Linked DNA regions of Homo sapiens: all the other regions are linked to region 1. The links are contacts of gene promoters, found by promoter capture Hi-C in blood cells and fetal thymus (Javierre and others, 2016). All regions are on one chromosome and are shown on one strand. The core of a region is centred on a gene start or on the middle of the fragment in contact, and the rest is flanking DNA. Distances in the headings are between cores, read along the strand shown.

Region 1 (4,092 bases), core at 1,094-3,593:
TGGGAGCTGCTCAGCTCCTGCCTCAGGCCTTCCCTGGTCCGGCCTCTCAGGAAACCCTCACAGTGGGCCTGCAGTCCGAACTAGTTCAAAGCCCTCGGCGGCTGTCCCCACCCAGGAGAGGTGCCCTGTGCTCTCTGGGGGGGCAGTCCCTGACCTTTCTGGCTCACCCCTCTCCAGGTATGGTGGGCATGCTCAGGAGCACATGCTGCCCATCTGCAGAGTCCCCAGACTTGGAAGCTTCTTCCTGGGCCTACACCCGGGCTCTGCACTCCCTGGGGCCTCGAGGTCTGGGCTGGACACATCAGCAGGGAGCTACACCTGGAGGTGGCTACTCAAGCCTGCCCCCGTCTCAGCAGGGTACACGGGTCGCCCAGTGAAGAGTGTGCATAGACAAGCTGCATCACTCAGCCCTGCACCCTAGGGGTACCACAGCCCCGGAGGCCCTGGCCGCTGCTCTGGGGACATGAGATCTTCCCAAAGTCTCAACCCAGCCTCTCCTTCTGCGGCTCCCAGCTAGGGCTCCCTGGGCCCTGCCTCCTCCCGCATACCGAGAATGGAGCCCCTCAGCTCTTGGACAATGATGTGCAGGTCATCCACGTCCACAAAGTGCAGGTGCTTCTCGGCAGGGGCTGAGGCAGCGGCTGACAGCTCCAGGAAGTTGCCTCGGCCGGTGCTGACAATGAACACGGTGACGCCCAGGTCCTTGAGCTCCTGCATGGGGGGGCCCACAGGGTCGCTGGAGCCGCCATCTGTCACCCACACCAGCACTTTGGGCACCCCTGGCCGGGCACCTGATGCTTCAGCAAACAGCTGTTCCTTGGCATAGACCAGCGCCAGGCCAGTGTGGGTGTCACCCATGCGCTGGGCAGAAGCACGCACCGCATCCTGGGCAGCCTCACCCGAGCTGTGCTGGCCGAAGGGGAACTCGGTGTATGGCCGACTGCCCACGTGCACCAGACTGGCACGCAGGGCCCCGGTGCCCAGGGGCAGTGGAGCCACCAGCTGCCCCACAAACTCCCGAACCCGGGAGAACTCGTAGTGAGAGACGCTGGCTGAGCTGTCCAGCAGGAACATCAGGTCCCCTCGGGGGGCTGATGCTGGTGGACCTGGGGGAAAGGAGGAATGCTCAGCCTCAGGTGTGGGCCCCCCAGACAGCCCCACAGCAAGGCAGGGTCCCCCAGGGCCCCAGCTTTCCTTAAGTGGATGCTTGCCTTCTCCCAAAGGTCCTAGGTTGGGGGAAAGAGGAACTCTAAGCAAGAGGCCTGTACTTTTGGGGGTTTCACTGCACACTGGCCATGGGATCTAGGGCTCTCTCTGGGCTTGTGTTATCCCATCTGTGAGAGGGCGACTCTCCGCTCCAAGCCCCCACACCTTCCCATTCCTCACAGACCCTGCAAGCAGGTGGAGCCAAGAGTCCTGGCCTAGGCCCCCAGGACAGGCCTGAGCCGTGGGGCTGTTCCCTCCAGGCATGGCTTTCAGAGGAGCAGCCTGAGGCTGGAGTTCAGCCACGCAGCTCAGCCTGCAGGTGAGGCACCCTGGGCATGCACACAGCAGCAGGGGAAGGTGTCGGAGGCACAGCAATGACCACGCCGGATGGCCTGGCTGGAGCCCAGACCCCGCTTACTAGATGGTGGCCCCTCCCCTGGCCTCCATCCTCCAGCCCACCTGGACTCACACAACAAGATATAACCCCCAGCAGCCTGAAAGCCGGAACAGCCCCTCGCAGGCTTCCCCCTTCCTCCGGGCACCTCCGGGGTGGAGGCTGATGCCCCCTACACCGCCCCTCCCCACCAAGCCAGGGCACCAGCGTGCCTCAATTCTAGTCCCGGCCTTGCGGTTTTCCCCAGTGCGGTGGGGCGACTCCAACTTCCCTACCATCCCTCCACTAAGGGCCCTCGCAAGGGTAGGGAAACTGAGGCAGGGGTGCCCCCTTGACAGACATCTCCCTCTTCCTGTCCAGGCCCGCGATCCCGCAGAGATGCGGGCCGGGACGGCCCCTATGCCCCGGCGCTCACGGACGGTGTCGCCTGGAGCACCTGGGCCGCCAGCCTCAGGTGAGCAGGACGCTCCGCCCGCGCCCCCGCCCGGCTCCCGCAGCCTCCCAGCCCGCCCGCCCGTCCGGAGCAGGGGACAGCGACGGCCTTGCGCGGGCAGCGGCGCAGAGCGGTCACCAGAAGCCCCAGCCCCGGCCCGGCCGCCCGCCGCACTCACCGCGCTCCGCGCCGCTCCGCGCCAGCGCCAGCCGCAAGCTCAGGGCCAGGCCGAGCGCCGTCCAGGGGAGCATCGCGCGCGAGGGACGGGGCGCGCTCGGCAACTCGCTCGCTCGCTCGCTCGCTCGGGGCTGCAGGGCGCGTCACCGCGCGGACCAGGCCGGCCCCGCCCCCGGGAGGCCCCTCCCCGAGCGGCCACACCCACGCCGAGGCCACGCCCACGCCCTCCGGCGCGAGCGGAGGGCCACGCGCACAGACCCCGGAGAGGCGCGCACGAGCGGACCCCGACACGCAGGGACACGCAGCACCAGCCGAGATACGACCGAGGCACGCACGCGCAGGCACGCACACACACACACTCCAGTCTCCCTCTCCCGGCCGAGGCTGTGCGGCCCACGCTCTCCACCCCTCTCCGACCCCCAGCCGCGGGAGCCGAGCAGGGAGGTACCAGGCTAGGCCCTCCCCATGCCCACCACTGCCGTGACTCTGGGTGCTGGGGTCCCAGCAGCCAGGCCCAAGAGAACCCCAGGGGCTGGCGGTGGCACCAAAAAAACACGTCCAGACCGTGGTTTCGCCTTGGCCTCCGCGCTGGAGGCGGATAGGTGTCTGGAGTAACAGGACATGTATCCCAGGGACTGACCAGCAGGGATGGGAAGGACCATGGGGTGGAACTTACAAGGACACAGTGGCTTGAAAGGGGACAGAAGACAGGAATTCGAGAGAGACTCGAAGCACCCACGCCACCTGGGCTTCTTGGAGGAAGAGGCATGGGAGTGGGAGATGGTTGGTTGAGGCCCTGTCCAGTGGGACCACACTGGGCCTGTTACCCATATACCCTACCCAGTGAGGGGCCCAGACTCCAGGACCCAGGACACACCCCCAGCAGGACTGGAGGGTCCCACTGGTGAGACAGGAGCTCTTGAGTCTTGGGGTCTTGGTGAGGCCCAGACGAGAGGTGGCTGGTTGCAGGGGGCGTCCTGAGGGACAGTGGCTCCCAGGGCAGATTTCCCCTGCTTGGGTGGGGCTGGGCCAGCAGTGTCCCCTGGACAGGAGAACCCTACCCCGGCCCTCCCTCGGAGTAGCCATGGCCCTCTTCCAGGGCCTCCTCAGCTCAGAGCTGGGAGGTGGGGGACGTGGGGGGGTGTCTGCCAGGATGTCTCCTCCTTCCCCACCCTCTCCTGGAGGATGCGCCGCGGGAGAACGGATGGGGCTCCACAGGCTTCCTTCCTCCCTTTCAGGCAGGTGAGACACCGCGGGGCCGTGCGGACGGCCAGCACTCGACTTTGCCTAAAAAAGGAAGCAGCAGGCTGAGGCTGAGGAGCTGGCGGCAGGAACAAGGGAGAGCTGTGTCCCCGCCGGCGCCCCCCACCCCCCCTGCCGGGGATCTTGGCAGTGGAGGTGCTGGCTGCGCTCCACAGACCTCAGACCTCGGCTGGGACCAGAAATGCCTGGTGCTTCCGCCTGGGCCCGGTGGGGGGACTTTGGGTCCCCAGAGTGCAAGCTGTACCACTTCGAGGGGCCTCGCCAGGCCCCCCAGCCCCCAGTACACAGGGGCTGCCGTGGAGATGACGCTGAAGGCCGCAGCCGCTGGAGGACCTGGGGTCTGACCGGAAGCTGGCTGCAGACCCTGCGGAGGCACGTCCAGGTAGTCAGGCAGGGAGCTGGGCCGAGGGTCCCCCACCCTGGGGAGGCTCACAGCCAGTGGCCCGCTTGTCCCCCACCCTCGCCCAGCAGGCGGGCCACAGTCACACCTCAGCCAGCCTTGCAGGGCTGACGGGGAAGTTTCCCTCACTTCTGGAAAAAGTGAGCGGGTCTTCTTGGCTGTGACTCAGGCCCTCAAGGAAGCGGCCGCCCTCCTCCCTTCAGCTCGCCATCAGCGGGA
Region 2 (4,092 bases), core at 838-3,337, 390 kb after region 1:
CAGACACGGCAGAGAAAGGGACAGACACGCGGCAGAGGCGAGCGGAACACACACCCAGGAGTCCCCGGTGGCTGCGGGCGAGGCTGCCCCCAAGCTTGGGGCTTCCTGATTGTCCACAGCAGGCTATGGGAGGGCCAGGCTTCCCCAGCCTGCCCAGGCCACTGACCCCTGACCACCAGCATCCCCAGGACACCCATGCATGTGGGGGGGCTCTCTGTGGGTGGGAGGAGCCTGCACCCCCAGAGTCACACCCAGGGCTGCACGGGGGAGGAGGTGTCTGTCCACTTGCTCTGAGGACCACAAGGCCAGGCAGCAGCAAGCCACCCCCCCTGCCGCACCAGGGGCAGACCTCGGGCTGCGGGCTCCTGGAGGGCAGGCACGGCACCTCATCCTGCCAGCAGGTCAGGCTGGAAGACACAAGAGGCGGAGCCGACAGGGAAGAAGAGACCAAAGAGAAGAGACAGACGCAGAGAGAAAGACCAGAAGATGGGCGAACTGACCAAGACGAACACGACGGGACACGACGGCCACTGCCTCCCCCTGGCCCTTCAAGTCCTGACACTGCCTCCAAAACGGCCGACGGCTGCCCATGTCCCAAGAGTGAGGACCCTGGTGTTGTGTCCAGCCTGCCCACCCCAACAGCCTGTGCTTACAGCGTGGAGACATGCGGACAGGCCAGAGGACTCCCAGGGAGGGCGTGGCTGAGGTCAGGGACCAGGGAGCCTGGACAAGGCCCCGCCTCTGCCTCACCAGCCCCCAGGTATCCAGGTACCCTCCGCACACAGGCTCCACCCTCCCCAGAGCCTTCCCAGAGGGACCGGCCCACTCCCAGGACCCCAAGAGGAACATGATGGATGAAGATGGCATGTGATGTCCAGGCAGGGACTGACGCAGGAGCAGCCCACCCCGCCTGGCCTCCACCCCGGGGCGCTCACCACACGGGCCCTGGTGCTTGCTGGGGATGGCACGCTGCTGCCGGCACTCAGCCTGCTGCCGCCAGCAATCACTGTCATACGTGCGCCCGTCCTGGGCACACACGGGCCTGTAGGCCCCGTCACAGGTGACGCGGTCGCAGGAGCAGCGGGGACGGCCACGGCGGGACAGGCACACGGCATTGAACCGGCAGGGCTCCGGGCACTGGTCTAGGACGCAGGGGTGAGGGAGTCACGGAGAGGCTGGAGCACCCTCCATCCCTGCCCTGGGATGTGCAGGGAGCAGGGGAGCAGGCGGCCCTCCCAGAGGGGAGCCGCCCACCTCGACCCTGGCACTGGCCGCAGCCCTCCCCCGGGGGAGCCGCCCACCTCGACCCTGGCACTGGCCGGAGCCCTCCCCCGGGGGAGCCGCCCACCTCGACCCTGGCACTGGCCGGAGCCCTCCCCCGGGGGAGCCGCTCACCTCGACCCTGGCACTGGCCGGAGCGCACTTTCTGCAGGAGGAGACCCCGGGCGGCCCCCGATCGGCCCATGACACAGTCGTTTTCGTAGGTGACTCCGTCGTCCCCACACACTGGCGCCTGCCGGGCAGGGCAGCTCTCGGGCCGTAGGAGCATCTCAGGGCGCCGCGTGCGCGGGTTCACACGGCAGCTGCGGCTCGGGTCAGGGAGGGCGCCCTGACAGGGGTCTGGGGGTCGAGGGCAGGAGTCAGGACGCTGTCGCCGCGCGCCCACAGAGCTCGAGCCGTGCGCCCGCCGCCGCGCTCACCACAAGGGCCGTCGAACTTCTTGAAGACATTCTCCTGGCGGGCGCAGGCGCGGCGCAGGAGCTGGCACTCGCCGGGGTAGTCGGCGCCGTCGCTGCCGCAGACGGTCCCCTCGGGGGCGCCACGGCAGGTCGCGGGGCACAGGCACGAGGCCGTCAGCCCGTCGGCCGAGCGCGCACAGGTGCTGCCGAAGCTGCAGGTCACGTTGGAGCAGGGGTCCCGCGAGCCTGCGGGCGGGGCTTTGCCGGTCAGACGGGCCGCCCCCGCCCCCGCTCCCGCCCCGCTCCCGCCCCGCTCCGCCCCCCAGGCCCCTCCCAGCCCCGCTCCTCCCCGCCGGGCCCCGCAGGCCCCGCCCCCGCTCCCGCCCCGCTCCGCCCCCCAGGCCCCTCCCAGCCCCGCTCCTCCCCGCCGGGCCCCGCCCCTGCCCCCGCCCCACTGGCCCCGAAGCCCCTCCCAGCCTCGCTCCATCTCATAGGCCCCGCCCCTCCCCGCCCCAGGCACCGGCCCCGCCCCGCTCACCGCACGGCCCGCGGCTGAGCAGGCGGATGCGGCGCTGCTGGCTGCACTGCGCCCGCTGCAGCTCGCATTCGTTGCTGTAGGTGGAGGCGTCCGACCCACACACAGGCGCCACCACGCTGGGGCACGGGCTCTTCTTGCAGACGCAGGACGCCCGGCCCGGCCCCTCCGCGTTGGGCTCGCACACGGCGCCGAAGCCGCACAGCATTCCCCGGCACGCTGGGGCGGGTAGGGGAGAAAGCTCAGGGTGCCGAGACGCCCGTACCCACGTCCACAAGCCTGAGAGACCTTGCCGTGCTCGCAGCCCGCGCATTCACCCGCCCCCGCGCCGCATCGGGGGTCCACCACGGACACGGACACGCGTGCGTGCGCTCACAGGACCGGCCCTGCCCCTCGCAGACCCCGCCCGCCGAGGATTCCCGCCAGCCCCGGGCCTCTCCAGGGATGACCTTTCTCCCCCACCCCGCACCTGCAGGCGCGGAGAGGGGCGTCTGCCGCAGGCGGCACCCGACTCTGTTTCTGCGACGGGCGAGCACCCACTTCCCACCCACCTCGTGGGCCTCCAGCGAAAAGCAGAGACGCCTCGAAACCAACTCGGGCACAAGCAGTCCAGGCCCCAGTTCTGCTCAGGAGCTCCTTCCACATCGGCACCGGAGCCCCTCACCGATTCACCCCATGGAGCCGGGGGAGCCCCTTCCCGCGCTGCTGCAGCGTCCAGCACAGCTGAGCCCTGCCGCCTCCCGCCCGGGTCGCACCCAGGTCCCGCGTCTGGCCCTCAGGGGCCTGAGAGCCCCACCGGGACGGGGTGTGAGGCCAGGTCACAGCTCTGGCCCACCTCTGGCGCCTCCCTGACCGCTCCCTGCGCCTAAGATGGGTGGGGAATCTTCTTGCCTCCCTCTCCCCAACTCTTCCCCAGCTTCCCTGGAGAAGTGCAAATTCCTGGCCTCCGCCTCTACTATCTCCTATTCTCCCTGGCCAGCCCCCCACCCGCGGCAGGCCTGTGCCCTTCTGCAGCCTCCCATCGCTCCCTGGGATCCCTGGGGCACCCACACGCCCCCTCCTCCCTGGGCATCCCCCGGCCCCCCACCTCACTCTTGCCTCCTCCATCGCCCTCACTCTCTGTCAAAGCGAACTTCCTTCTTGGAGAGGTGCAGGAACTGTTGCTCATTTTAGTTCTTACAGCTGCAGACCACAGCGCCTGACACACGTCCCATCACCAGACCTCAACGTGGCCAACAAAGCTGCCTCAGGCACGTTAAAACCCAGAGCCCCTGCGGCAGCCCATCCTGAGCACCCCCACCCCCAGCATGGCCCACCCAGGATCAGGGAAGGGTCCGTTAGCGGCTGCAGCTGTCTGGATTTAATAAATGTTTAATTGGGTCCAATTATCATTAATAAGTCATGTCAGAGGGGTGGCTACCACCCATCACTTCCCAGCAGGCTCGTGAAATGGGGCAGGAGGAACCCCCCCCATCTCCAAGGAGGGTGGGTGCACTGGGAGCTGGAGCCAGCTGTTGCTATAGCAACAGCCCACCCCAGGCTCTGGCGCTGTCTGTCTGGGTGTCCCTGCCCCCACCCCAGAAGGCTGAGTGAGGGCCATCCGCCTGCCATCCCTGCAACCTACCCATGCTCCCCCCACCAGATCCCTGTCTTCCTCCCCAAACCTTGGCTGTGCCCCCACCCCTCTTCTGCTACTCTCCCACCTCAGGTCTTACAGCCAGGCTGCTCAGCTCTGCATTACCCACTGTGAGAATGTGGGCAGGTTATCACCTGCCTGGGCCTCAGTATCCCCTTCGGTGAATAGGAGCAATAGGACCTACCTCCCAGGATTGTGGGGTTAAATGGGCCAGTATCTGCAAAGCTTAGAGGGTGCCCAGC
Region 3 (4,092 bases), core at 494-2,993, 320 kb after region 1:
TGGGGTACAGGTGGTGTTTGGTTACTTGGTTACATGGGTAAGCTCTTTAGTGGTGATTTGTGAGATTTTGGTGCTCCCATCACCCGAGCAGTACGCACTGCACCCTATTTGTAGCTTTTTATCCTTGTCCCCCTCCCACCCTTCCCTCCGAGTCCCCAAAGTCCAGTGTATCGTTCTTAGGCGTCTTCCTGTTTCCTGATGGCTTAACCTGGGAAACCCTCGCAGAGGGAGCCGGTTTTGAGCCCCAGGGTAGGGGCGGCCGCCTGGGATGTTCAGTGATGCGCCTGATTACTCAGGTTTATGTTCCCCGTTTGCATTCAGCCAGGATCCGTCATGGCCACGTTGTTTTTAACATACATGTTTATGAATTATACAGAAACGTTGTTTTCCTGACACACATCCCGCCCCCAGTACTCCTCCTAAAAGCCAGTCAGGCAGGTGTTTCCACACGCAGTCACCTCAGCCCTGGGGTGCACAGGCAGCATCCCGGGAACCCCTGAGATACCTCCCAGCTGCTCCCTGCCTTGCGGCTGCTCTCCACCTGAGCTTTGACTTACTGGGTAGCTCATTTAAAGAACAGCTAGCGCTGTGGGTGCTGGGGTGGGAGATCGCTTGAGACCAGTCTGGGCAACATAGGGAGACCTCGTCTCTATAAAAAATAAAAAATATTATCCAGGCATGGGGGCAAGCACCTGTGGCCCGTTACAGTAGGTAGCTAGTCAGACATGAGCAGGGCAGAAGAGGGGCCCCCCTCTACCAGGGACATTTGGCTGGTAAGAGAAGGCGGCCCTGGCTGTGCGCGGTGGCTCACACCTGTAATCCCAGCACTTTGCAAGGCCGTGGGGGGAGGGGGGCGGATCAGAAGGCCAGGAGTTTGAGATCAGCCTGGCGAATATGGTGAAACCCCGTCTCTGATAAAAATACAAAAATTAGCCGGGCATGGTGGCGGGCGCCTGTGGTCCCAGCTACTCAGGAGGCTGAGGCAGGAGAATCGCTTGAACTCGGGAGGCGGAGGTTGCAGTGAGCCGAGATTGCGCCACTGCACTGCAGCCTGGGTGACAGAGCGAGACTCCATCTCAAAAAAAAAAAAAAAAAAAAAGGCCTCGAGGGAGCGTGCGCACAACTCCAGTAAACTCTGTGCATGCTCCCTCCCAAGTGCCCGCAGCCGCTGTGCGGGTGGACGGCCCACCCCGAGGGAAGAATCGGGAGACGTAACACCCCGGAAGCCTCCAGCGTGGAAGACCCTAAGTCAAAGGTCAAACTGCGCACTTGATCTCTCAGGTCTCCTGCCTGGCCTTCTTCCAAGGGCGCTTTACTTCCTTTCATTCCTGCTCTAAAGCTTCTTCATAAACTGTTGCTCCTGCTCTAAGGTCTCTTCTGCCTCCTACCCGTCCATCAAACTCTTCTGAGGAGGGAAAAATTGAGGTTCACTGCTGCTAACATGCTTTGGTGTCAGAAGTGGGACATATTCTGCCACTAACAGTCCCAGCTACTCGAGGGACTGAGGCAGGAGGATCGCTTCAGCCCCGGAGGTGGAGACTGCAGTGAGCCGAGATCGCAACGATGCACTCCAGCCTGTTTCACAAAGAAAAGAAAGAGCCACCTCTTCTCACCACTCTGGCTGAGGGTTGCGTGTGCCGAGGTGGAGTGTGGAGCTCAGGTGAGCCTTCAGAGCTCTATTACTGGCAGAATGTATCTGAGTTTCAGCACCAAAGTATGTCAGCAGCGGCCTCGATTCTCGCTGCCTCAGAAGAAAGAATTTGATGGAAGGACATGAGGCTGAAGGAGAGACTGAGGCAAGTTTTTTTTTTTTTTTTGAGATGGAGTCTGTCTCTGTCGCCCAGGCTGGAGTGCAGTGGCACAATCTCGGCTCACTGCAAGCTCTGCCTCCCGGGTTCATGTCATTCTCCTGCCTCAGCCTCCCGAGTAGCTGGGACTACAGGTGCCTGCCACCACAACCGGCTAATTTTTTGTATTTTAGTAGAGAAGGGGTTTCTGCATTTTGGTCAGGCTGGTCTCGAACTCCCAACCTCAGATGATCCACCCACCTCAGCCTCCCAAAGTGCTGGGATCACAGGCGTGAGCCACCGCACCCCACCGACTAAGGCAAGTTTTAGAGCAGGAGTGAAAGTTGTTGAAGAAGCTTTAGAGCAGGAAGGAAAGGAAGTACCCTTGGAGGAGGGCCAGACGGGCGATGTGAGAGATCAGGTGTGCGGTTTCACCTTTTGACTTGGGGTTTTATAGCCTGGCAGGCTTCTGGGGTCTTGCACCCCTTCTCCCCTGATCCTTCTTCAGGGTGGGCTGTCCACCCATGCAGCATCTTGCTAGTACTTGGGCGGGAGCATGCGCCATGTGTTCCCTGGAGGGAGGGAGCATGCCCGGTGTGTTCACTGGAGGGAGGGAGCATGCCCCGTGTATTCACTGGGGGGAGGGAGCATGCGCTGTGTGTTCACTGGAGGGAGGGAGCGTGCGCGTTGTGTTCACTGGAGGGAGGGAGCATGTGCCGTGTGTTCACTGGAGGGAGGTAGCATGTGCCGTGTGTTCACTGGAAGGAGGGAGCATGCGCTGTGTGTTCACTGGAGGGAGGGAGCGTGTGCGTTGTGTTCACTGGAGGGAGGGACCGTGCGCCGTGTGTTCACTGGAGTAGTGCCCATGCTCACCTGAGGCGTTCTTCCGTTACCTGTCAAACGTCCCTAGAAGGTCATAGAACGGTTACACGCCGCCATTTTGCCTCTCAGTGCACACGCTTGAGCCAACTCGCCCAGTTCCTGAGATCGTATCGGGAAGCTGCCCATCACCGGATTTCATGTGTTTTCTAGCTATTGGGAGCCTGTCTTTCCCTGGCGCTGGGTGCAACCAGTTCTTTTAGACAGTTAACAGCCACCTGACCATCACCTGATGGTGGCCTGACATTCCCGGTGGGGGGATGGGCCCGATCCTGCCCTGCTCACGTCTGCTGAGCCACCTACGGCAACCGCCCGACTCCGGTGTGCTGAGCCCACGGGTAGGTGGGCAGCGACTACCATGCATGTCAACAAAGGGGGATGTCTCCTTTACACCCCATCAAGGGGTTTGCGGTATTTGTTTTCTATCAAAGCACGAGAGGGATCTTTAGGTAGAGAGGCCCCAGACAGTTCTTATTGGGCCCTTAAAGCTACGTTTCACGTTGGCTTCCTTTGCTTGCTACGAAGATGACCAGCATTAGCTACACGGATGCAGTGGAAGCTCCAGCCAGCCCTCGGGGCTGTGTTTACCGAGGTTCAGCAGCGTGAGAAACCCGCCAGTGGACCCTCCCGCCTCCCCTTTTCAGTTACTGCTGCCTGGGCGGCTGGAGTTACGGTGAGCGTGGGTGTGGTCTACCCACTGCCCCAGCCGGTGGTTGCTTTTACAGGGTTGTTTTGCAAGATGTTACTTATTTAAAATCACAGTGACCTGAGGCATCATTTTTTTCTTGAAACCAGTTCTTTGTTGTTGTTGTTGAGACGGGGTCTGGCTCTGTCGCCCAGGTAGAGTGCAGTGGTGCGATCATGGCTCACTGTAGCCTTGACCTCCCAGGCTCAAGAGATTCTTTCACTTCAGCCTCCCAAATAGCTGGGACCACAAGTATACGTCACCAAGCCCAGCTATTTTTTTTTTTTTTTTTTTTTGGTAGAGATGAGATCTCACTCTGTTGTCCGGGCTGGTTTTGAACTCCTGGGCTCAAGCGATCCTCCCACCTTGGCCTCCCAAAATGATGGGATTGCAGGCCTGAGCCTCCACACCTGCCCTGAAACCAGTTCTTCTAAGGGAAAATAAGAGTGGTCAAAGAGTGTATAGCACAATTTAAATTCTCACTAAATTTTTCATTGCCTTGTAGAAATTTTCATCCCATTATTTAGCTTTTTGGCTCCAATGAGATTTTCAAAATAGAAAATGCATGTGTTTAGTTACTAAGGCATAATTTACATGCAGTGAAACACACAGAGCTTGTGTCCAGTTCAATTGTTTTGACAAAGGATTCACCAGACTCCTGTCGTGATGTAGAATCTGCCTGTGATCCATGGAGATTGCCTCGCAGGCTGCTCCAGCGCCCGCCTGCCGCGCCAGACAGGA
Region 4 (4,092 bases), core at 946-3,445, 300 kb after region 1:
AGGCGGCGGGCAGGGCGCAGGGCGAGGGGTGCAGCCACCGGGAGCCCCCCACACCGGACCCCGAGCATTGAGACTGCAGTGCCCACCCAGCCGGAGCGTCATCCTTGGCAGGACCCCACCAGGAGGGATGTACCAGGGATGCTGGACACCCAGGCCCCGCCACCCCAAAACAACGTCTCCACGTAAACCCAAGCGACCTTCCCTGGGGTGGGTGTGACCTGCCCTCCCCACCACTCTCAGGGCAGTTTTCTCCACCTGTAGCTCCCCCGGGCTCCCCAGGGTTCCTGGTCCTTCTCCTCTGTGTTTCCTGCTTGCTCCTAAAACTCAGCTTTCAGGCGGAACACACAGCCCGGAACCACCCTGCTCTCAGGCGGAACCCGCGAGCACACGCAGCAGAGCTCTGCTCTTCCTGGGGTTTTAAGGATGAGACATTGCAAGGTCCCCCGGGCTACACAGTGACCCCTCTGGCAGGTTGTGCCCCCAGAGTTCATGGTTAGAATCCAAACTCTCAGTACCAACAACGCGAGCGTGTGTGGAGAAGGGGCTACGAGACAGGTGAGTATGTGGGAAGCAGCCGTGAGGATGAGCCCTGGCCGGGTCCCACTGGTGTCCTAGTTGCAGGAGGAGGTTAGGGCAGAGGGACACGGGACGGACCTGCGCAGAGGCCGCCTGAGAGAAGGCAGCAGCGGGAGAGGCCTCCGCAGAACCAGCCCGGCAACCCTGGGACACCGGACCTTCCCCTCCCCCTCCGAGGCTGTGAGAAAATACATTTCTGTTGCTTAAGTCCCCAGGCTCGGTATTTTGTTCCAGCAGCTGGAGCTAGGACAACCCCAGACGCACCCGGCCAGCCCTGAGGGAGGGCGTTCACCGGCTTCCCATACGCATTGTAGGAGGCCGCATGGGCACCCTCCTCAGCCCTGGGCACCCTTGTCGTACCTGACAACCCTGTGTAGATTCCCTGCAAGCATCCAGGGTCCAAGGCGGCCGCAGGCTCCTCAGACAAAGGGCTTCCTCCACACATGGGCTCAGGGCTACGGGCTCCCTGACATCGACCTCCCCGGCAGCCGCCCTGGTGTTTCTCCCATTTGCCAGCGGACACATCCCAGGTGACACCCCACCTCGGAAGAGGCCCTCCTGGCAGGTGCCTGGCCCCAATGCCCAACGCAGGGCTCGCGGCGGCGATGGCGGCGGGTCTCAGGCAGGAGTGGGATCTCTCTGCTGTCCGGTCCTGCCCCTTGCCCCTGAGAGGCCCCACAACCCCACCCCCAGCACACCCTGCATGGGCACCCCCGTCTCAGGCTCTGCCTCCCGTGCCCTGACCCTGGGCGCAGAGGGCCACGTGCCTGTGACTCCGCTTCCCTGGCGGTGAGGGGTCCGGCCTTGTGTCCCATGACTCGGGCTCTGCTCCCTGACGACCTCGCTGGGGCTGCCCCCACCCTTCCGTGGAGTCCTTTGCGACGGTTTCTAAGGGCTCAGAGTGCAGCATTGATTTCAACCATGTGTCTCTGTCATTAAAATAGTCCCCTGACTTTGCCTGTGGAATGTTTTGCTCTCTTCCCATTTTAAGTTAAATGTGGTCAGTGTGACGGAAGGAAATGCGGGTTTTTCTCCAGACCGTCTTGTGCAAGGAGAAGAAGCCTTGAAAAGAAGAGGCACAAACTATCAGGAACGTCCTCGAAGAGATGAGCGAAAGCACGTGGCCACAGAAAACCATGAGGATGCAACAGAAAGAACGACTCCGAGGGGCCGGGCGTGGCGGCTCACGCCTGTCATCCCAGCACTATGGGAGGCCGAGGCGGGCGGATCATGAGGTCAGGAGATCGAGACCATCCTGGCCGACACGGTGAAACCCCGTCTCTACTAAAAATACAAAAAATTAGCCAGGCATGGTGGTGGGCACCTGTAGTCCCAGCTACTCGGGAGGCTGAGGCAGGAGAATGGCGTGAACCAGGAGGCGGAGCTTGCAGTGAGCCGAGATCACATCACTGCACTCCAGCCTGGGCGACAGAGCGAGACTCCGTCTTAAAAAGAATGACTCCGAGGACAGAAACGAAAAGCGCTGGAAGGGACGGAGCCAGGACGTTCCCCGAACGTGACGTGAAAAGGCAAAGAAAATGGGATAGAAAAGGTGATTAGAGGACCTGCTCCAAATTGCAGCAATATTCACCAGAGAAAGAGAGAGCAACAACAAAAAGAAAAGATAAAGAACAAAATCATTTAAAAATTGTAATTCAAGAACATTTCCTGGAGCCGAAGCTCAGGCATTTCCAGACAGAAAGAGCCACTGAGGACCCCGTGAAAGGGATGAAAACGGAACCACACAAAGATCCACCTTCACAGGACAGCAGAGATGGAGACAAAAAGAAGGCCCCAAAAACTTTCAGGAAAAAACCCGCAGAAACAGGTTCCATACCAAGGCCCCGGGGTTGGGATGCCATTGCCGGACCCACAGCAGCCTCGGGAGCCGGGGACCCTGCGGCGAGGTTTTCTCAACTCGCAGGGAAGCGAAGGCCTTGGTGGGGGCCCGCCCTGTGCCCTTCACAGGCAGCTGCAGCTGTGGGCGTGGTGGGGGCCCACCCCCTGCACCTCACGGGGAGCTGCGAGGGGCTTGTTCCACCAAAACACTGAGAAGACAAGAAAGGGGAGGTGTGGGGCCCGGGAAAATCCCACCCAGGGGAGAAGCAATGGGACCTTTGTGACACGGACCACGAAGCCTGCAAGACGCCAGCCCTGCCCCAGGCCCGAGGGAGCCGACCAGCCCCGGGCAGGGCAGGAGGCTCCCGGAGGCCCCTCAGAAATACCTGGCGTGCCGGAATTTAAGTCATGGGGGAGAGTCTGAGGCTGAATTAGTAATGAGTTCAGAGAAAGCTAAGCAAGAAGAAAAGCAAAGGCGATTATTAACTTCAGGGAAACAGCTCAGAGTTCGGGTGAGAACAGGCGGCCACGGTGGACCTGGCACCAAGCTAGTCCCCGGCGCCCAGCAGAGTGACAGCAGAGACCAGGCGCGGCGCGTGACGGCGGGACGAGAGGTGGGAGGGCGGCAAACAGCCCCTTCCACAGGGCAGATTCAGGGCTGACCCTGAAGCTGGAGTGCTGAGAAGCTGCCGTTTGCCAGTGACGTTGGAAGTAAACACAGGAGCCTCCCAGCACACGGAGCTGGTGGCCTCGGCGCGGCCTGAAGATCATATGTGTCCAAGCCTTGCAGAAGTGTTTGACTCTCAAGCAACCTACAGGCATAACTGGTTTTTTTTTTTTTTTTTTTTTTTTTTTTTTGAGACAGAGTCTCACTCTGTTGCCCAGGCTGGAGGGCAATGGTGCCATCTGAGCTCACTGCAACCTCCGCCTTCCAGGTGCAAGCGATTGTCCTGCCTCAGCCTCCAGAGTAGCTGGAATTATAGGTGCCCGCCACCACATCCAGCTAATTTTTTTGTATTTTTAGTAGAGACAGGGTTTCATCATGCTGACCACGCTTGTCTCGAACTCCTGACCTCAAGTGATCCGCCCGCCTTGACCTCCCAAATGCGAACCACTGTGTCCGGCCACAAGCATAACTTTGATAGAAAAGGCAATAACAAATTAAGTTGGTGCGAGCTTTACCCTCTGAGTCCTCGGAATCATTTTTAAAACATAAAGGTTTCCAGAACTCACAGCTGTGAACTTAACTGTTCTCAAGGGGGTATCTTTGATTGATTTTCCTAACTCTTCTACGATAATCGGCCTTTTCCCCTCTTCTGCTTCCTCTCGTTCTGGCAGCCGATGCTCACATCCATAACAGTGTCTGTTTCCCTGGATTTTCCCATCCCAGGGCCACGCAGAGTGCAGCTCCCCTACACGGCCACGGCATTCTGTCCCTCTGTCGCGTGGCCATGCGTGGCTCAGTGCCGTGGGAGCCTCTCCGTGTCTGAGGCCGAGGGCAGGCTGGTGCCCCATTCGCTCTGTGCCTCACAGGCGGCCCTGATGCTCTGTGCTCCAAATCTCTGCAGGACTGGATTTCGGCCGGGACAGAGGAGGCTGTGCCCCCACCCACGTTGTTCCCAATGCCCACGCACCTTGTCAACTGGAATAAATTTGGTTTCCCTGCAAGAGCTCTCT
Region 5 (4,092 bases), core at 425-2,924, 280 kb before region 1:
AAAACCAGAGAGAGCAAACTCTAGCTGAAAGCATGCGTGTGTCACAGACCGAAAACCAGAAAGAGCAAACTCTAGCTGAAAGCGTGCGTGTGTCACAGACCATTCAGAAGGGCTATAGAGAGCAAACTAGCTAAAAGCATGCGTGTGTCACAGACCGAAAACCAGACAGAGCAAACTCCAGCTGAAAGCATGCGTGTGTCACAGACCATTCAGAAGGGCTATAGAGAGAATACTCTAGCTGAAAGCATGCATGTGTCACAGACTGAAAACCAGAGAGAGCAAACTCTAGCTGAAAGCATGCGTGTGTCACAGACCGTTCAGAGGGGCTATAGAGAGGATACTCTAGCTGAAAGCGTGCGTGTGTCACAGACCGAAAACCAGAGAGAGCAAACTCTAGCTGAAAGCATGCGTGTGTCACAGACCGTTCAGAGGGGCTATAGAGAGGATACTCCAGCTGAAAGTGTGCGTGTGTCACAGACCGAAAACCAGAGAGAGCAAACTCTAGCTGAAAGCATGCGTGTGTCACAGACCGAAAACCAGAGAGAGCAAACTCTAGCTGAAAGCGTGCGTGTGTCACAGACCATTCAGAATGGCTAGTCCATTTTTCCTCTGGGGTTTTCTCTCCCCCATTATATTGTTTGGGAGCAGTTTGTTTACATTTAAAATGACCTGAATTCAACAAGTATAGGAGAAAAACACACCCCAAAATGGGTATTTGCTCAAGTCCAAAGAATGGGTTAGGCTTGAGCAGTTTGATCTCGTACCAACATCAGGAGATTCTTACGGGTGTTAGGAAAATTGGACCTGGAGCCCGATTGAAATCTCATTATTATAAATACGCTTGATTAATTAATGTGGCTTCATTGCACAGTGGAGAAGCCCACTGATAGCAAAGCTTTGTTCTGTAGTCTTTGTGAAGAGTGGTTTTTGTATTATAAAACTGATAATTATAGTTTATTCAGTATAGAAAATTTTTAAAAGATGAATATTACAATTCTCTTCTGTGATAGCAGAATTGTTTTTCTTTTTTCTTCTTTCTTCATAATTAGACGCTTACTGCAGATAGTTTTCTATTTTCAAAGTTTTTTATTTAACATAAAATCATGATTATTCGACTGGGTGCAGTGGCCCAGGCCTGTAATCCCAGCACTTTGGGAGGACAAGGATGGAGGATCACTTGAGCCCAGGAGTTCAAGACCAGCTTGGCCAATATAGTGAGACCCTGTCTCTTCAAAAAAAAAAAAAAAAAGATTAGGATTACTTAACATCATTATTTAAATATTTAATGTTCTTGATTTAATTTCATTTTCATGTGATTTTTTTTTTTTTTTTTTTTTTTTTTTTTTTTTTTTTTGAGATGGAGTCTCACTTTTTCGCCCAGGCTGGAGTGCAGTGGCACGATCTCGGCTCACCGCAACCTCCACCTCCCAGGTTCAAGTGATTCTACAGCCTCAGCCTCCCTTAGTACCTGGGATTACAGGTGCCTGCCACCACGCCCAGCTAATTTTTGTATTTTTAGTAGAGACGGGGTTTCACCATGTTGGCCAGGCTGGTTTTGAACTCCTGACCTCAGGTGATCCACCCGCCTCGGCCTCCCAAAGTGCTGGGATTACAGGCGTAAGCCACCGTGCCCGGCCTCGTGAAATTTTTGAAGTGAGGTTTCTTTGCATGACACTTTATTTCTCATTAGGGAAGCATGCTAGAGTGAAAGAAAGAGAGCACGAACGTCGGAAACGACATCGAGAAGAACAGGATAAAGCTCGCCGGGAATGGGAAAGACAGAAGAGAAGGGAAATGGCAAGGGAGCATTCCAGGAGAGAAAGGTGAGTGGGCTGGGTCAGTTGAGGACTTTATGAAAGGGCCGTGGTAGTGTGTCCTGTCACAGCAATGAAGAAGAATTTGGCAATAGAAGTCACATTTGTTGCAGAAGTGGTAGACATGGAAACAGCACAGTGAACGCTGGACGAGGCTGACCAAGAGAACTGTCCTGAGGGAGTGAGTTTTCACTGCATCTGGAAGTAAGAACGGGTGTGATTTGATTGAGGGAAGACAATGAAGGGATCAGAAATCTGCACGTCCCGCCGGGCGCAGTGGCTCACGCTAGAATTCCAGCACTTACGAGGCTGAGGTGGTTGGATCCCTTGAGCCTGGGAGGTCAAGGCTGCAGTAAGCTATGACCATGCTACTGCACTCCAGCCTGGTTGACAGAGTGAGACTGTCTCAAAAAAAGGAGAAGGGAGATCCCAAAAACCTTGAAACAGTCTGGAAATCGGGACACTGGACTCCTAGGACTCCTGGCCATTAGTCTGTATATTCGTTCCCCTTTATGAGCCAGATTCCCAAGAAAGAACATCGGTGTAGCCCCAGATCTGTTCTGTGAACCAGGAAAAAGGCTGTAGGCCAGGTGCGAGCAGGCCCATCTCCGCCTTCAGAGTGAGTCCACAGAAAGCTTGCAAGCTGCTCCAGGAAGAGAGGAGTCTGAAGCGGAAGGGCGTGTGCAGCGATGTTTGCCAGCAGCCAGGGCTGGGTACACAGCATGTAAAGATGATGAGAGGGCGCTGGTTCTTGTTGATGCCGAAGGGTGTGGGAGACACTGAGGCCCAGGGGTCAAGGTCCGAGACCGCTGCTGGGTGAGCAAGGTTTCAGTTGGCCTAGTTCCTGTTAGTGTGTGAAACATTCATGTATGCCACGCCCTGTGCCAGACATTGAGTGTGTCTTGTCCCACGAGAGTAGAGCTTGGGATAGAAGTGGAGGTTGGTAGATGAAATTTGGGCTGTCATATTGATTTCCCAGAAGGTAAAGACAGGAGAGTGAATGAACAAAAATTGTTGGGGGCAGACTTCTGGGTAGGGCCGATTCAGATCAGCCAATCCAGAACTGGGTGTGGTAGCATATGCTACGTGGGAGGCTAAGGCCAGAGGACCGCATGACGCCAGCCTGGGCAACGTAGAGAGACCTTGTCTCTGACAAAAAGGAAACTGATAAGGATAATCTGAGAAGCACTGATGCTTGGAAAACTGCTGAGCTGTGGGTAAAAGCAGTAAGAATCTGACCTTCTGGCCTGAGAGCTGCTCCCTTTACTGCTTCCACTCTGCACTTGGAAGCACGGAGGTTCCACTGGGACAGGGCAGCTGCAGGACCTGCAGTTTCCTTGCTGCCTTGGAAGGGGTTACTCCGTTTAGAGCAGTGGGCAGTGGCCTTGCCCACCAGCATCCTCAGTGGAGGGAGGAAAAGGCCAAGAGGTCTGCTAGAATGAAGTACAGTGTGGTTGGGAGCAGCTGTGATCCCGCCAAAGACGTGCAGCAGAGACTGGAGAGAGCTCGAGCCGCCACCCACTTGTGACCAGCCCTGAGGATGCAGCTGCGTGAAAGGACCTAGCAGAAAATAGAAGCCGCCACAGATGCGAATGACGCCTGAACGTTCAGTGTGCTCCCTGTCCACACACAGCCGTGGGCCAAGGAAGCCTTACTGTGCTCGAGGTATTTGAGCCCAGCCTTTTTCCAGTGCTGGCTAATTGCTAAGCTGTGCAGCCATGGTGGTGACCCCTAGGAAGCCAAGGTTGAAAATTAAAATAGGCATGTGGGAAGGAACGGGGTGGCCATGAGCTATGAGGGAGATGGATTTCACGGACAACCAGACAGGCCTTGGTGGTAACAACGAAAGGGAAAACTTAGAATCCAGAATTGCTACAAATGTATTATCTAAAATACAAAGAAGTATGACAGTGTGACCCGTACTGAGGAAGAACATCATCAGTAGAAACTGTCTTGAGTGTCCAGATGTTGAATTTAGTAAAGGCTTGGAAACAACTTGTGGATGGAGCAGTAGAAATTATCCATTCTGAAGAACAGAGAGAAAAAAACAAGAAAAATGCACAGAGCCTCAGAAACCCGTGGTACAACATCTGCTGTACCAAAGCACGTCGAATGGGGGTTCCAGGAGAGAGGAAAGATATTTGTTACAATAATGGTTAAAAACTTTCCAAATTTTAATTAAAAAATATGCACATTCAAGAGCACAGGAAGTTTGAACTAGAATAAATGCAAAGTCACATCATAGTCAAACTGGCAAAGGCCAAAGAGAAAATGTTGA

The links. Contacts are between HindIII fragments. The CHiCAGO score rates a contact against its expected background, and 5 or more counts as called.
Region 2: a contact is called between a fragment that was not itself captured here and the fragment with the promoter of VWA1 in region 1, in 2 of 17 cell types (naive B cells and naive CD8 T cells). The highest score is 5.7, in naive B cells.
Region 3: a fragment that was not itself captured here is called in contact with the fragment with the promoter of VWA1 in region 1 in 1 of 17 cell types (total CD8 T cells); the score reaches 5.2 in total CD8 T cells.
Region 4: a fragment that was not itself captured here is called in contact with the fragment with the promoter of VWA1 in region 1 in 1 of 17 cell types (naive CD4 T cells); the score reaches 5.3 in naive CD4 T cells.
Region 5: a fragment that was not itself captured here is called in contact with the fragment with the promoter of VWA1 in region 1 in 2 of 17 cell types (endothelial precursors and activated CD4 T cells); the score reaches 6.4 in endothelial precursors.

Annotation. Positions count from the first base shown.
Region 1 is chr1:1,433,941-1,438,032 of GRCh38, reverse strand. It overlaps VWA1 (von Willebrand factor A domain containing 1), which reads right to left and starts at 2,343. Exons shown (of 3, transcript NM_022834.5): 1 at 2,212-2,343; 2 at 549-1,106. The coding sequence starts at 2,284. LOC107985729 reads right to left here. Exons shown (of 4, transcript XM_017003066.2): 2 at 3,962-4,070; 3 at 3,631-3,837; 4 at 2,484-3,497. The coding sequence ends at 2,883. It overlaps LINC01770 (long intergenic non-protein coding RNA 1770), which reads left to right and starts at 3,460. Exons shown (of 2, transcript NR_125996.1): 1 at 3,460-3,845. RefSeq lists silencers at 2,226-2,415, 2,174-2,543, 3,290-3,584 and enhancers at 3,370-3,429, 2,689-3,432. The HindIII fragment of the contact is 8,860 bases long and covers 240-4,092 here.
Region 2 is chr1:1,039,006-1,043,097 of GRCh38, reverse strand. AGRN (agrin) reads right to left here. Exons shown (of 36, transcript NM_198576.4): 4 at 2,218-2,433; 5 at 1,701-1,925; 6 at 1,396-1,620; 7 at 936-1,142. Among named protein-coding and RNA genes, the nearest start is that of AGRN, 21 kb to the right of the region's middle. RefSeq lists a silencer at 2,109-2,318 and an enhancer at 2,874-3,552. The HindIII fragment of the contact is 3,981 bases long and covers 97-4,077 here.
Region 3 is chr1:1,110,921-1,115,012 of GRCh38, reverse strand. All of the region lies in intron 1 of C1orf159 (chromosome 1 open reading frame 159), which reads left to right. Among named protein-coding and RNA genes, the nearest start is that of C1orf159, 3.1 kb to the left of the region's middle. RefSeq lists enhancers at 2,210-2,504, 2,723-3,224. The HindIII fragment of the contact is 804 bases long and covers 1,342-2,145 here.
Region 4 is chr1:1,129,368-1,133,459 of GRCh38, reverse strand. All of the region lies in intron 1 of LOC124903820 (a long non-coding RNA gene), which reads right to left. Among named protein-coding and RNA genes, the nearest start is that of LINC01342, 5.6 kb to the left of the region's middle. The HindIII fragment of the contact is 4,801 bases long and covers 1-4,092 here.
Region 5 is chr1:1,714,077-1,718,168 of GRCh38, reverse strand. CDK11A (cyclin dependent kinase 11A) reads left to right here. Exons shown (of 20, transcript NM_024011.4): 5 at 1,691-1,823. Among named protein-coding and RNA genes, the nearest start is that of CDK11A, 8.2 kb to the left of the region's middle. The HindIII fragment of the contact is 1,554 bases long and covers 898-2,451 here.